Regions from separate parts of the Homo sapiens genome. Here regions 1 and 2 are each linked to region 3. Evidence: promoter capture Hi-C in 16 types of primary human blood cells and fetal thymus (Javierre and others, 2016). All regions are on one chromosome and are shown on one strand. Each heading gives the region's core, a stretch centred on a gene start or on the middle of the fragment in contact. The rest is flanking DNA. Distances are from core to core; before and after follow the strand shown.

Evidence for each region. The method cuts DNA at HindIII sites, captures the fragments that hold promoters and counts their contacts. A CHiCAGO score of 5 or more calls a contact.
Region 1: a fragment that was not itself captured here is called in contact with the fragment with the promoter of PABPN1L in region 3 in 3 of 17 cell types (endothelial precursors, M1 macrophages and erythroblasts); the score reaches 6.2 in endothelial precursors.
Region 2: a contact is called between a fragment that was not itself captured here and the fragment with the promoter of PABPN1L in region 3, in 1 of 17 cell types (endothelial precursors). The highest score is 5.5, in endothelial precursors.

The regions. Positions count from the first base shown.
Region 1 is chr16:89,095,664-89,100,536 of GRCh38, forward strand. ACSF3 (acyl-CoA synthetase family member 3) reads left to right here. Exons shown (of 11, transcript NM_001243279.3): 2 at 2,928-3,100. Among named protein-coding and RNA genes, the nearest start is that of ACSF3, 4.2 kb to the left of the region's middle. RefSeq lists an enhancer at 192-361. The HindIII fragment of the contact is 403 bases long and covers 3,423-3,825 here.
Region 2 is chr16:89,043,752-89,048,052 of GRCh38, forward strand. No RefSeq gene overlaps it. Among named protein-coding and RNA genes, the nearest start is that of ACSF3, 48 kb to the right of the region's middle. The HindIII fragment of the contact is 1,575 bases long and covers 1,893-3,467 here.
Region 3 is chr16:88,865,410-88,869,983 of GRCh38, forward strand. It overlaps PABPN1L (PABPN1 like, cytoplasmic), which reads right to left and starts at 1,251. Exons shown (of 7, transcript NM_001080487.4): 1 at 943-1,251; 2 at 397-532; 3 at 154-221. The coding sequence starts at 1,197. The HindIII fragment of the contact is 14,417 bases long and covers 1-4,574 here.

The DNA.
Region 1 (4,873 bases), core at 2,374-4,873, 230 kb after region 3:
CAGCCCTTCATTTGAATGCGAGTGTCATTCTCATCTAGTAATTTTTGTTGCGAGGCTCCATGGGGAGCACCCTGCTGAGCACGGCGCGGCCGTTTGTCTTCTGCCTGGCCTGTGCCGGGCCATTCGTACATTCTCACGTGAAGCCTGTGAGGCAGGTCTTGTTACTGTGCCATCTTAGCGGTGGGAAGTGAAGGGCTAGGCCAGTGAGGAAATGAGGACAAAGGCAGCAGCCGTTCAAGTCGAAGCCTGTGGTGACTAACTCTGCCATTAACCAGCACTCCAGTTAGGAGGGAAAAGATGCATCCCGCTGCGCTGCATGTGTGTTCCCGAGAAGCCCCAGTGCCTTAGTGGTCTGATCTCAGAACCTGATGGCTAGAACACCGAGAGGTCCTGCCTCCCTCCCCGAGGGCTGGAGAGCCACTGTTTTCAGTGGTTCCAGTACGCCTTCACCAAGGAGGCTGTCCTGGCTCAGGCACCTTTCTCAGCTTCTGACTAGAGTCCTTGCCCAGCCACGTGGTGACGCCGCTGACCTCGGGTTATCAGGGTGCTGCGTAGCAGGGGTATGAAGCTGGCTGAGGGTGGAAGCCCCTGACTGAACTGCATTTGTCTGGTGGGCAGTGTCCCTCCACACTGTGCTCCTGGTGGTGATGGGGAGCCCCACGGTAGAAGGGGTCCCAGTGGTTGAAAGGTGAGGTTCTCTCTGAGGAAGCTGGGGTGCCTCTGGACCGGGAGGTGTGCAGGAAGACCGCGCACAGCCATCTGCCCTGAGTAGGCTCTGTCTGCGTGTTCGAGGCAGGGCTCTGATCCGATGACCGTGAAGATTCAACCTCTGTGCTGAAGAGAACTGATGACTGGGCACTTCATTGTCCCAAGCCTGAGGGACTGAAAAGCTGGTTTGATGGGGCTGGTTCCGTTTTCCACATGCTTGGTGGGAGAATAAATCAGCACCTCGTTGGAGGGGACTTTGTCAGTATTTCTCAAAATTAAAGATGACCCAGCAATGTGACTTCCCGGCATCTGTGCCCTAGACACCCCGAGTGAACACAGCTGTAGGTGCCAGGACTCCCCCCTTCCCTCGGCCGACTCTGGCTAGGCCAGGCCCTTCTCACCCTCCATAGGAAGCCTCCCCACCAGGCCCCCGTCCGTTCCTCCTGCCCGTGGCCTCTCCTCATAGCGCGTGGGCTCTCTGGGAGCTGGGACCATGTCACACGGGGCCAGTCACATCTGTCACCTCCCAGGGGCTGGTGGCAGGAGTGCCCACCCACAGGCAGCGCTCTGGATTCCGCGCAGGAGAACAGCAGTTTCTTCTCAGCCTGCACTTTGAGTTTGCCCAGCCCAGCTGTGCACGTCAGCATCACCAGCTCTGCTGAGCTCTGGGTTTTGTGGGGAATCCACTCTTATTCTTCCGTGGCTTCGCCCTGCGGGGTGACTCAGGAATTTGTAGAAATGCCAAAAGGGGGGCTGTGCTCTGGTAGTGTGTGCTGTGTGTGCTCAGCGTGTGGTTAGCGTGTGCTCAGCGTGTGGTTACCGTGTGCACAGCACGAGCTTGAACTCGCTTTGTCAGAACTCGGTTCTTTGTGGTCTGCAGAAACCTTTTCTGAGCAGCAGCTTTAGTTAGAGGGAAGCCGTCATCCCCCTTTTATGTGCTTCTGTCATATTGAGAAACAGCTACACACAATGACAGGCACCTTCTATATTGAGTGAGTGTCGCCGGCCGTCCTAGTGCTCCGCTCCTTAGCACCCCAGAAAGCACCGTCCCCTGCTCCGAGCACCCAAGGCACTCCCTGTGGCTCTCAGCAGCGGAAGTCTGGCCTCGGGGCCGTAACCCAGAGCACCCAGTGCCCAGTCGGTTTTCTGTGTGTGGATTCTCCTTGTTTCTGTGCCCTCACACCTGTAAAGCAGTGCAGGATCGGTTGGAAGTGAGGAAGGAAGCGTGGTGGGGCCGCCCTGGTTTGCTGCTTTCTGAAGCTGGCACAGCCCACGTGCCGATCTCGTGTCTTGTGTCTGGTGAAGCCCAGTTGTTTTCTTGCCATTCTCTGGGTTTCTCTATGGTAGCAGAGTCCAGGTGTGTGGGCGGACCAGCCACTGCCCTGCCTCTGAACAGCTGTGGAGGGCTTCTAGAACATGGGTGCCTCGCGTCAGGAGATGATGTGGCCTGCAGGACTGACCGTTTGGTAGGATTCAGAGAAGACTCACACAGGACGTCCAAGCAGCCCGCGGAGCTGTGCTGAGGTTCAGGGCCCTGCGTGGCTCGTTTTCCTCCTGCCTGGGCCAGAGGCAGGAGATCCCTCAGCTGGCTGGGACAGGGGACTTCATTAAGAGCCCCAGGCTACCTGGGAGGCGGAGCTTGCAGTGAGCCGAGATCGTGCCACTGCACTCCAGCCTGGGTGACAGAGCGAGACTCCGTCTCAAAAAAAAAACAAAAGAGCCCCAGGCTAGTGGGGAAACCAGACACCCAAATCAAACAAGCAAAAACCAAGGCCAGTAGTTGAGGGTCTCAAGCACAAAACATACTTTGGCTCTGACAATTTTCATTGTCATGAAGTTTGTTTTGTTAGACAACTATGAAGTGTTGTGACGGTTTCAAACTAAGAGCAGAAAACAAAACTGTTTAGTACAAACCACAGACAATAACACAGTAGCTTTCCCCTCACAAGTTAATGAAAGAGATGTGCTGGAGAGAGAGAACCTGCTGAACATGGGCACAGATCCCACAGAGGGGGCGTGGTGTGTGGGAGGAGACTCGACAGGGTCATGGGGTCACTGCTGCCCGTTGTCGGGAGATAAGGCTCACAGCTTTATTTGATAATGTTGTCTTTAGCTTGTAAATGAACATGCTTCCCTTCCCCCATTGAGTGTTGAGTGTTGTGCCTGTGGGAAGCGTTATACACACAGCCTGGGACCTCAGCACAGATGCCCGTTGACAGGTGTCCCACCGGCCTTCCGGGTTCCAGCGCCAGGCCTGGTGCCTGCCCCAGGAGGATGAGCATTTGCATTGCCTGCACCTTATCGTGCCCTTCCACCTGCTGAAGCAGCTGTGCCTGCCGCTCTTGTGAACTGCGAACTTCCCCTTACCTCCTCTCTCTGGCTCGGGAGCTGGGTGAGTTTGAACTTGGCCTCCTTTGCTTTTCTGTGTGCGAACAAGTGGTTGCCTTGTTTGTTTACTGAACAGAGTGTGGTTGAGGCAAAATGCTGAGATGAAACCTAACCTAATATGTGTGTATTAGACGGTAGCATCATTGTCAAAATAATACTTGTTCAAAGTCCCTGAAAACCAAACGGACAACTTGACTACGCTTCGGCCACAGGCCTGGGACGCTGTCAGACCGAGGGCCGCTGAGTGCCCAGTGGCAGCAGAGCCCAGAGGGTGCTTCCCCCAGGAAGGGAGGCAGACCAGCCTATTCTTACTGTGAGTCGAGCAAAGCTTTGATTATAAAGGGCCAGGGATGCAGGAGCCTCGTGGAGAGTGCCACCCCTTCTTCTCGCTCTGGAATGCGGGGGCTGTGCCCCTGGCCTGTGTCCGCATCCTGGGGCGGTGTCCCGTGGGCAGTGTCCTCTGGCTGCAGAATGCATGTTGCAGAATTGGACCAGCCCTCACGCGTCAGGAGCGTTGGGCCCACAGGCGGAGGCACCCTGGCTTCTTCTCGGTCTCCTTTCTCTGAATGAAGAATTCCAGTGGACGGCGGGCCCGCGCGACCCCTCCCAGGGAGCCCTCGCTTCCTGCTGATTTATTTGTTATTTAGTAGTTAAGTTTTTGGGGGGAAAGGAGAGAATTATAGTTCAACCTAAAACACGTTTTCTAGCTCTGTGAATTGCCTGATTTAAAGCTTGGCTTGGCTGGGTGCAGTGGCTCACACCTGTAATTTCAACACTTTGGGAGGCCAAGGTGAGTGGATCACCGGAGGTCAGGAGTTGGAGACCAGTCTGGTCAACATGGTGAACCCCTCGTCTCTACTAACAATACAAAAATTAGCCAGGCATGGTGGTGCGCACCTATAATCCCAGCTAGTCAGGAGGCTGAGGCAGGAGAATCACTTGAACCCAGGAGGCGGAGGTTACAGTGAGCCCAGATCACACTACTGTACTCCAGCCTGGGTGACAGACCAAGACTGCATCTTAGATAGATAGATAGATAGACAGAGCGGGTGAGACTCCATCCCAGATAGATAATAAAGAGAGAGAGAGAAAGGAAAAAAAGGTGAGAGAGAGGAGAGAGAGAAAGAAAAGAAAAGAAGGAAAAAAGCATGGCTTACACCTGCCATAACCCCAGGACTTTGGACCAGCCTGGGCAATACAGTGAGACCTTGTCTCTACCAAAAAAAAAAAAAAAAGCTGGGTGTGGTATCACATGCTTGTGGGCCCAGCTACTCGGGAGGCTGAGGCCACAGGATGGCATGAGCCCAGGAAGTCGAGGCTGCAGTGAGCCATGATTGCATCACTACACTCCAGCCTGGGCGACACAGCAAGACCCTGTCTCAAAAAAACGAACCTTGGCACCTCACCACATTTCCACTGCGCACCAGTGTGGGAAGGGTCTGAGAGAGGCAGCGCCGTGTCTGCCCCGGGGGCGGGGTCTCCAGGCCATGCCTGTTGTGAGCGGGGGCTGTGCTGAGCTCTTCTCTGCACTTCCCCCTCTCACGGGTGGTTTTCCAGGCTCAGGATTCTAAAACCCATTATTCAGATGTACCTTAAGTGTGTTGAATTTTATATGCTTCTCCTTGGTTTTACCTAGTTTATTTCATTGTTTAGAATTTTGTGTGGTTTGGGAATCCTTAAACTCATGAAGTGAAATAGAAAGCTGAGATGCTGGGCACGTACGGAACGTTCCAGCAGTGTGGGTGAGAAAGGCTGGACGTGGCCTGTCTGGTGCGCT
Region 2 (4,301 bases), core at 1,430-3,929, 180 kb after region 3:
CAGACCTCTTAGTAACCCTTAGAATTATTCTCCACTCCACAGACTAGACAGGGGCGAGGAGCAGTTGGGCTGTTTGCTGGCACAGGCCGCAATCCACCATCCGAGCCCTGCACAAGCCTTCCCGACTTCTGAGACCTCACAAGCCCTCACTCAAATCGGGTCAGGATAAATGGCCCAGACTCCCCAAGGGTCTCTGGTGTGGCCCTAGGCCCCAGGACCTTCCAGTCACCTGCACCCTCGCTTGGAGAAGCATGCTTACCCTACAAGGCCCAGGGAAGATACCACCTCCTACAGGAAGCCTGCCTTGACTCCCCCAGTGGACGCTTACTCTCCCTGACTCAAAGGTTCTGCAGGACCTCACCCTCTGCCGGCTGCCCCTGTCACCCTGGTGTGGGGGCAGCGTGTGTGCCCCCCCTCTACCCAGCACTGTACTGATGCCCGATCTGGGGCTGGGGGAGCATTGTGGAGAAAATAGATGAACACTGTGGATCCAGGTGTCTCTGGCTCCTGAAAACTGCAGGTGAGGACCAGCCGAGGAGGGCGTCCCCAGCAGCCCCTGTCCGTACATGTTTGGCACCCAGACAGCCCCCATGTGGTCCTTGCAAAGAAAGGGGGCTGTGGCTGAGCCCAGCACATTGTGTGCAGGGACCGCCCTGGAGTGGACGCAGCGGGAGGGCTGGCCGCACCTCCCATGCACACCCTCTCCCCCAAGCCCCAGACGCGGAGCAGGAAAGAGTTAAGTCCTCTGTGAGCAACTGTGTGAAGGAAGTGGTAAACAATTTTTCTCTCCCTCGGCTAAATTAATATGCAAATTCCCAAGCCCCCCTCCATTCCCTTCCCCTGCCTTGAAATTAGCGAGGTAGAATGCTTGGGCTAATTATGCATTCAAACGAGCAGGCTGCGTTCGCCCGGCACTAAGAAGATGCGGAAAATGATTGTGAGAAGATGGAATTGACATTCGAACGCGGCCCTCCCAGTGCATCTGGAGCCACTCTCCTGCATCCAGCAGATGGAACCCGGCAGTGACCGCCGGCCACCCCCTGGCCCGGGAAAGGGCTGCAGCAACTAGCAGTCGGCTCTGCACCCTGGTCCAAGGTGAGGGAAGAGGGGGGCCCATGAGCAACCATCTAGACCCCCTTTTCCCCACTGCGGAACCCCACGTTGCCAGCCTGGCACATAGAGCTTCCCCAGGAGCCTTTGGTGCTCATATCCAGAGGTCAGAACCTCAGATGGGGGTGCTAGGGTGAAGGCCATGGCAGGCGGCAGGAGCCACAGAGGCTGGACTGGGTCCAGACAGGCGGCCTCAGGCCAGCCGTGTGAAGCAGAGCCTGGAGCTCTGCCAAGGGGCCTCCATGCAGGGCGGGTGGGGGCGGCAGGGCACTTGGGACCCTCGCTGCAGCCACCCTCACCACCAGCCCCGACAGCCACGGCCCCTCCCAAGCAGATGTGCTATAAATTGCCATTGTAAGTAAAATTTTGCTTCAGAACGGAGTTTCTCTGCAAAGTCGGAGTTTGACTAAGAGGGAAACAGAGGCCAGAGGCTGCCTGGCATCAGAGATGGGCGGGGCCAGTAAGGAGCAGGCAGGCTCGGGAGCCGTGACTCTGAAAGCTAAGACGGGCCAGACTGGAACCCTTTCTCACAGGGCCTCGCTCTGCATTTACTGGAGAAACCCAACCTTCCTGCCTGTGGGGGCCTGTCCTACCCCATTCTTCCAGCCACCTCCTACCACACGACACAGGAGCCCTCAGTTTGCACACCATGGGGCCCTCTCCTGGCACGTCCTCTTCCTCACCTCTGTCTCAGGTAACCAGTCTCAGGGCCCTGTCCAGACCGACTGCCTCTGCCCAGCCTTCTGTCTCTCCCCTCGCTCCCTGGGCCACTGCTCTTGTGAAGCTTCATGAGGCCTCTTTTATTCTTGTGGAGCATGGACGCTTAACATTCCCAAAGTCCAGCATGTCTTTCCCACTTGTCTCTAAACACCTGCAGGACACAGCTTTGTGCTGGATCTCTGGAGCACCCATGGCACCTGGTCCTGACCTTAGCTTTCTTAAAGACCTGTCCATGGGGACGCTGATGAAAGGATTGGTTAGGCAGCCCCCAATCTGCTAGACATGCTATTTGTAGCTGCACATGAGAAGGAGGCTCCTTTTGGAAATGTGTGCCCAGCACTTCCGAGGAAGTCCTGGGAGGATCCACACACTGATCCAAGTCCACTCACGCTGCAAGCAGCAGCATTATCATCACCATCATCATCATCCCCACCATCACCATCATCATCATCACACCATCATCTCCACCATCATCATCACCATCATCATCACTATCACCATCACCACCATCCCCACAGTCATCACCATCCCTATCATCACCATCATCATTATCCCCATCCTCACCATCATCATCATCACAACAATCCTTACCCGTTTTCTGGGCATTCACTTGGTACCAGACATCATACAGAAAGGTTTAGACACAGGATCACTTTGAATCTGCACAGCTCTTTTGAGGTATGTACTATTATTATCGTCAGTCTACAGATGAAGAAAGTGAGGTCCCTAGCTAGTGATAGAGCCTGAACTTGAACCTAGGTCCTTCTGACACCAAAATTCCAAGTTCATAGCTCTATATTCTTCTCCCCATTTCCTCATGGACATGCCTTCCAGTGAGGGGACAAAGACCAAAGGAGTGGCTCATCCAAGCATAAATGGAGACCTCTGAGGCCAGAGCTTAAGTCACGACCTGAGGGGTTTAGATTAGACTAAACCCAAGACTTTCAAATAATGTGTGTTTTTAGTTCTCAGAATAACCAAGAGGAAGTGTTTTAGCAACTACAGAGATTCTTGCCTCTCCCAGAATGTGTAAAGACCAGCAGGCTGATGGATTGTGGGTGAGTCAGACCCAGCCCGGTGGCCTTATGGTGCAACCTGATAGGTGTGCCCTTGCCAGGCAGGCCGGCAGGTAGGTCAGGGGCCTGGGGTCTCAGGACGTAGAGACTGTCCCTGCCCTCAGTTGGAGAGGACTGCAGACCCCTTCACTCCCTGACCTGGAGGAAGATGTGTGAGTCTGGGCTGTGGGGGTCACAGAAGCAGCAGGTGGCCTGTCTGCAGGTCCTAGGCCAAGGGCTGACTGGGTCCGGTGACATCCTTTGTGCTGGCGTTAGTTTCCCTCTCTATCCAAGGGCTGACTGGGTCTGGTGACACACTTTCTGCTGGCCTCAGTTTCCCTCTCTATCCAAGGGCTGACTGGGTCCAGTGACATCCTTTCTGCTGGCCTCAGTTTCCCTCTGTATCCAAGGGCTGTGACTGGGTCAGGTGACATGCTTTCTGCTGGCCTCAGTTTCCCTCTCTATCCCATTAGAGTGTTGGACTAGATATTCTCCAATGACCCTTTTCTTGCCTAAAGTTTTGTCATTCCAAGTGCAGAATGCTGTTAATTTGTCCATCTGTCCATCCATCCAAACCCCAAAAGCTTTCACTGGAGGTGTCTGAGTGCACGGCCCTGACGTCTGAAGGAGGCGCAGGTCTAGAAGACATAATGCCAGAGCGGCCCTCGTACCCACAGAGGAGAAGCAGAAGCTCAGAACCTATGGCCAAAGCAAGACACAGGCGGGGAAGTGCCATGTCCTCAGAACCCAGGAGTGCCGGTGGAACAAGCACCTCCGCCCGCCTCCCACCTGCTTCCTTCCTGCCATCCAGGGAGAACAGCCCTGGTTTCCAGGTAGAGGCATCCAGAGCTTCTGTGCCAGCCCCAACGGCCACACAGATGGATGATGGTGTTAAGTACTCATCAGCTGCAGTGAGGCTCCTGGAGCCGCCCATGAGGATGTAAGGTGCAATGTGCACCTCGCTCCTAACACCCAGGGCAGACGTTTGTCAGTGCGGGAATGGCAGGCGGGGGAGGAAGGCAGATCGTCCCGAGGCGTGCATCTCGAAGCCACCTACAGTGCTCATCAACAGGGAGCAGCAGCTCTGAGCAGCCCAGGAGTGGGTGCCAGCCGAAGTCAACAGGCAGGCGGGTAAATGCGTCCCAGCGCGGGGAGGGCTTGGAGAAAGGCCTGGAGCGTGACCCCTGCGTAAAGAAGAAAAGTGGCCGTTCTAGGAGAGGAGCAGTGAGACCCCAGGCTTTGTGGCGGGATGGGCCCCAGAGCACATTTTGGGGGCCTGGTGGGGTGATGGCAGCTGAGACAGGACAAGGCCGCTGGACCCCACAGGCAGTGGCCTCGGGTCTGAGGGAGGCTGTCCCAGTGGCCACCACACCTGGCCAGGCAGGGCCGTCAGGTGGGACCTAGGGGTGGTCACTG
Region 3 (4,574 bases), core at 1-2,500:
GCCCAGGCCAGTGTTTCCTCAAGGTGACGGGGCTGCCCCCAGGGTCAGACCCCCTTCCCAGCAAGGCTGCCTGGCCCATGGCCGGGCGCCAGACCCTCTGGTAGAGATGGGGCCCCATTCGCTGCCTGCCCCTTCACCCCGCCCACCACTCACGTTGCCCACGTAGACGGATCTGTGGTCAGCCTCCACCTTCTCCTCGGGGGTCCCAGAGAGGGGGCAGCCTGCGGAGAACACAGCTCAGGCCCGCAGGCCCTTGGTTCCTTCCTCACTCCTCTCACGGGGAAGGTCGCCCAGGCTTATAGGGGAGGTGACACCTTGGAGCCTGCCAGGCCCAACCTTAATGGAAACTGTGGGACCCTTGCTCAGTGGGGGGCGGCCTGTGCCCTTGGTTCCTACCCACGGTCTCAGGGCTCAGCAGCTGCCCGGCCGCGGTGCCCTCCTCTTCCTCGGCCTGTTGCTGCACTCCTGGAGGCCGTGGCGTCCCCTCGGCCTGCTCCATGGCACACACCTTCATCTTGATGGCCTCCAGCTCCTGCCGACACACGGCCCTGAGCCGGGCAGGCAGCCTGCAGGCTCTGCTCAAGGAAGGTGGGTGTGTGGCCTGCCAGCTCCAGCAGAGGGTCACAGCCCCAAGGGGCAGCCCTTCTCTGGACAGGGACACTCCTTCCTGGGGCAGCTGGCTGGGGATGAACTCGCCCCTGCAGAGAAGCCCCCGAAACCGCACCTCAAGGGCCCTTCCCCAGGCGAGAGAGGCCACCTTGACCCTGCAGTCTGTGTGGCTGGGGGCGGGGGGTCTCCTTGCCACCTTCGTCCAGGCAGGTGGGCAATGGCCCTCTCCCCTCCTAAGTCAGCTGCAGCCATCCGTCACCCAGACCCCGTGTCTCCACCAGCCCCTGTGCCCCAGGTCCCCTGAGATCCCCAGGGCCTCCACACAGCTGTTACCTGGTCAGGCAATGGGCACTCAGCCAGGTTCTCTTGCTCCAGCAGAGACAGCAGAAAGCCTGCATCCCCATCCTGGTCTTCCTCTGCATCCTCTTCCTCCTCTTTCTCCTCCTTCCCTTCCCCACCCTCTGGCCCCAGAATCTCCTTGGTCTCGTTCCAGGCCCCCCAGCCCTGGGCCTCAGGGTCTGAGGAGACCGTCTGGAGCCAGGCCTGAGTCGGGGGTGGGAAGAGAGAGCGGCTCGGGAAGGGCCACATGGTAGAGGGGCAGGAGGAAGGTGGGCCAGGCGAGGCCTCCCCTCCACTCCCCTCGCGTCCGCACCTGCCCAGGCTCTCCTGGAGTTTTAAGCCCTCCCCTGAGGCCAGCTGCTCCCACTAGAGCATTTGCAAAGGCTGAGTGGGGCTGAGCTTCCAGCCTTGGCTCCCGGCCCCGCCCCTTCCCTGTCACTCGGACAGGTACCTCCAGGACACTCTCCCTGGAGGAAGGAGAGGCTGAGTTGAGTGGGGGTCACCGGTCTCTTCTGCTTCCGCCTGGCCACGCTGTGGCTCACTGGAGCCTTGGTCTGTGACAGGGTTCACACCTCAGCAGCATCCACACGGCACGAACGCCACACTGCATGAACACTCGATCTAAGTGGGAACACGGGAGTGGTTTCTTCTAGTACCAGGGACCAAGCAGGCTGGAGAGGTGGCTTCCGACCAGGAGAGGCAGGGCCTGAGCAGAGACCGAGAGCAGGTGCATGGGATGAGAGGGCCGAGGCAGGTTGGGGCGGGGTCCTGGGCCCAGAGGAGGGGCAGCAACAGCTGTCTCTGCATCCTGACCCCCATGGAGTCCCCAGGGACCCTTGCCTCCCTAACCCTTATTCTGGGCCTTTTTTTTTTTTTTCTTTTTTTTTTAGGCAGGAGTCTTGCTTTGTTGCCAAGTCTGGAGTGCGGTGGCGCGATCTCGGCTCACGGCAACCTTTGCCTCCCAGGTTCGGGTGATTCTCCTGCCTCAGCCTCCTGAGTAGCTGGGATTACAGGCACCTGCCACCATGCCCAGCTAATTTTTTTTGTCTTTTTAGTAGAGACAGGGTTTCACCATGTTGCCCAGGCTGGTCTCGAACTCCTGACCTCAGGTGATCCGCCCGACTCGGCCTCCCGAAGTGCTGGGATTACAGGCGTGAGCACCGCACCTGGTCTGGGTCATCTTTTAGGTGGGAGCCACTTCCATGAGGCCAGAATTATTCTGCTGTGGGGCGGGGGCTCCGTGGGGAGTGACGGCGTGAGTTATTGTGGGGCGGGGTCTCCGTGGGGAGTGACGGCGTGAGTTACTGTGGCGGAATTCAGTGGGCATCCGGTGGTGTCTGCACCTGGCTTCACCCATGCAGGGTTGCAGCAGGAGGTGACCCGTGTCCGCCCTTGCGCCTCCCTCTGCACCTGCCACCGCGGCTGCTGGAGTCTGCTCTGGCCTTCATCTCCAGTGCTGCCGTCTCCCACCCACTCTGTGAAGGACTCGGGGCCAGGGGGTCATGCATGGCTCTTACCCCTGCCATTGGTGGTGGGAGACGGGGCCCCCTGCACAGCTCCTACCCCCAGGCCGAGGCCATCCTCTCTGTGACTGCACCCCGGTGTTTAGCCAGTGGGGCTGGGATTCCTGGGAATTTGGGACTGGGGGAGGAGAGAGAGACAGGGCGTGGCCTAGGCTGGAGCTGCACTGCTGCACCATGCACCACCCACGCAGGGCGGCCCTTCCTCCATCTTGGGCTGGGGGCTCGGGGAGCAGGTGGACATGGAGGCTGCCACAGCCTGGGAACCCAGGCTCCTGCACCCAGTCTGTTCTCACCTCTGTAAAAGCCAGAAGGTGTCTGAGATGGGTCTCAATCAATCAGTTTAGAGGTGTATCTTGCCAAGGTTAAGGGTGCACCCAGGAAAAAGAAACACGAAGCCACAGGCAACATCTGTGCTCTGCTTTTTCCAAAGAGGGTTTGGAGGCCGGGCATGGTGGCTCACGCCTATAATCCCAGCAGTCTGGGAGGCCGAGGTGAGCGGATCACTTAAGGTCAGGAGTTCAAAACCAGCCTGGCCAACATGGTGAAACCCTGTCTCTACTAAAAATACAAAAACAATTAGCCAGGCATGGTGGCGGGCGCCTGTAATCCCAGATACTTGGGAGGCTGAGGCAGGAGAATCACTTGAACCCGGGAGGCAGAGGTTGCAGTGAGCCGAGATCGCGCCACTGCACTCCGGCCTGGGCGACGGAGTGAGACTGTCTCAAAAAACAAAAACAAAAAAACCCAAAGAGGGTTTGGAGACTTTTATACTTAAAGGGAAAGAGCGGGCAGGAGGGGAACACAGGAAGGAAAGAAAAGGGAGGGCGGATAAAAGGCAAGTGGTAGCGTTCCTTTGAATCTCTGATTGGCAGTCACCAAATGCACATTTTGAAATGTGGAAGGTGGGGGTAGAGAAGAGAATTACGTAGCCCCACGCTCAGCGACTCTGCGTTTCCACAGAAGATAAAACTGCCACAGGGAATAGGAAGCTGGCAGGTTCGCATTCGCCTCCGGTGAGCGGAGGGTAACGTTAGCTCTGTCCTTTGTCCCATACCTGGGAAGATAAGCTGCTAGATCACACTATCTGGGTGGGATCCAGCAGAACTGTTTCAGAGCCAAGATCTTGGGACCCACAAGGAATTTCCCTGTAAGCGCGATGCGAGGAGGCACAGGCTTCTTCATCTTCGTGGCTGTCCAATTAGGAAGAAAATGGGAGGCAGGTGTGTGTGATTCGGCTCCCAGCTTGACTTTTCCCTTTGGCTTAGTGCGTTTTAGGTCCCGAAATTCTGTTTTCTTTTCCCACCTCCAGGAGGCTGACTGAAGACCATGCTGTCACCCCATCTGTTCACCACCCAGAGGATTTTCTGGGGCAGGCTCATGAGGTCGGGGAGGAATGGGCCTTGTCTGGAACCTGGCTATGGCCCTGGACGCCCCTTCCCCTCTCCCTGGCTCCGCACAGCCACACACTTACGTGTGCGTGGTCCCTGGACGCTGTTCCCCCTGCGAACACGGTGCCACTGTTTCCGGGAGGGCTGCCGGGCTGCTCCTCCTCCCTCGAGAGCCGCTGTCCTCACGCCTTTCCTGCTGTCCGTCCAGTGTTGATGACTTGGCCAGCTCTCCCCTTAGAAACCAAAGCTCCTCAGGGGCAGCGCCCACATCTGCACCGAGGACAGGTACGCTGGGTGGAGTGCGGCCTCAGCCTGGGATCCTCCTGTTGGGATGGAGCCCCCTGCCCCGTGTGTCTGTGCCTGTGTGTTGGAGGGTCTGCCAGCACCCGTGCCTCCACCTCCCTGTCAGAGGCAGGATTGCAACCAGTTCCATCCAAGACCAGAGTCTGCTGGACTCGGCCCAGGCCCTGACGCATGCCCCTCTGAGCTCGGGCCCCGGCCATGGAAAACCTTGTCATCCTCACCCTGTCTGAGATTGCTGACACACAAGGCCCGGCCAGGGCTCCTGCCAGCTGCCTGGCAGGGGACAGACGGCTCCGACCCTGGCCTTTCCAGTGACACTCTTCAAATACACCCTGTTCCAGAGCCGGGCCTGAGGATTCATGGCAGCCTGGCCCCTGGGGCCCCAGCGCCCAGGACAACTCCTATTCCAGAC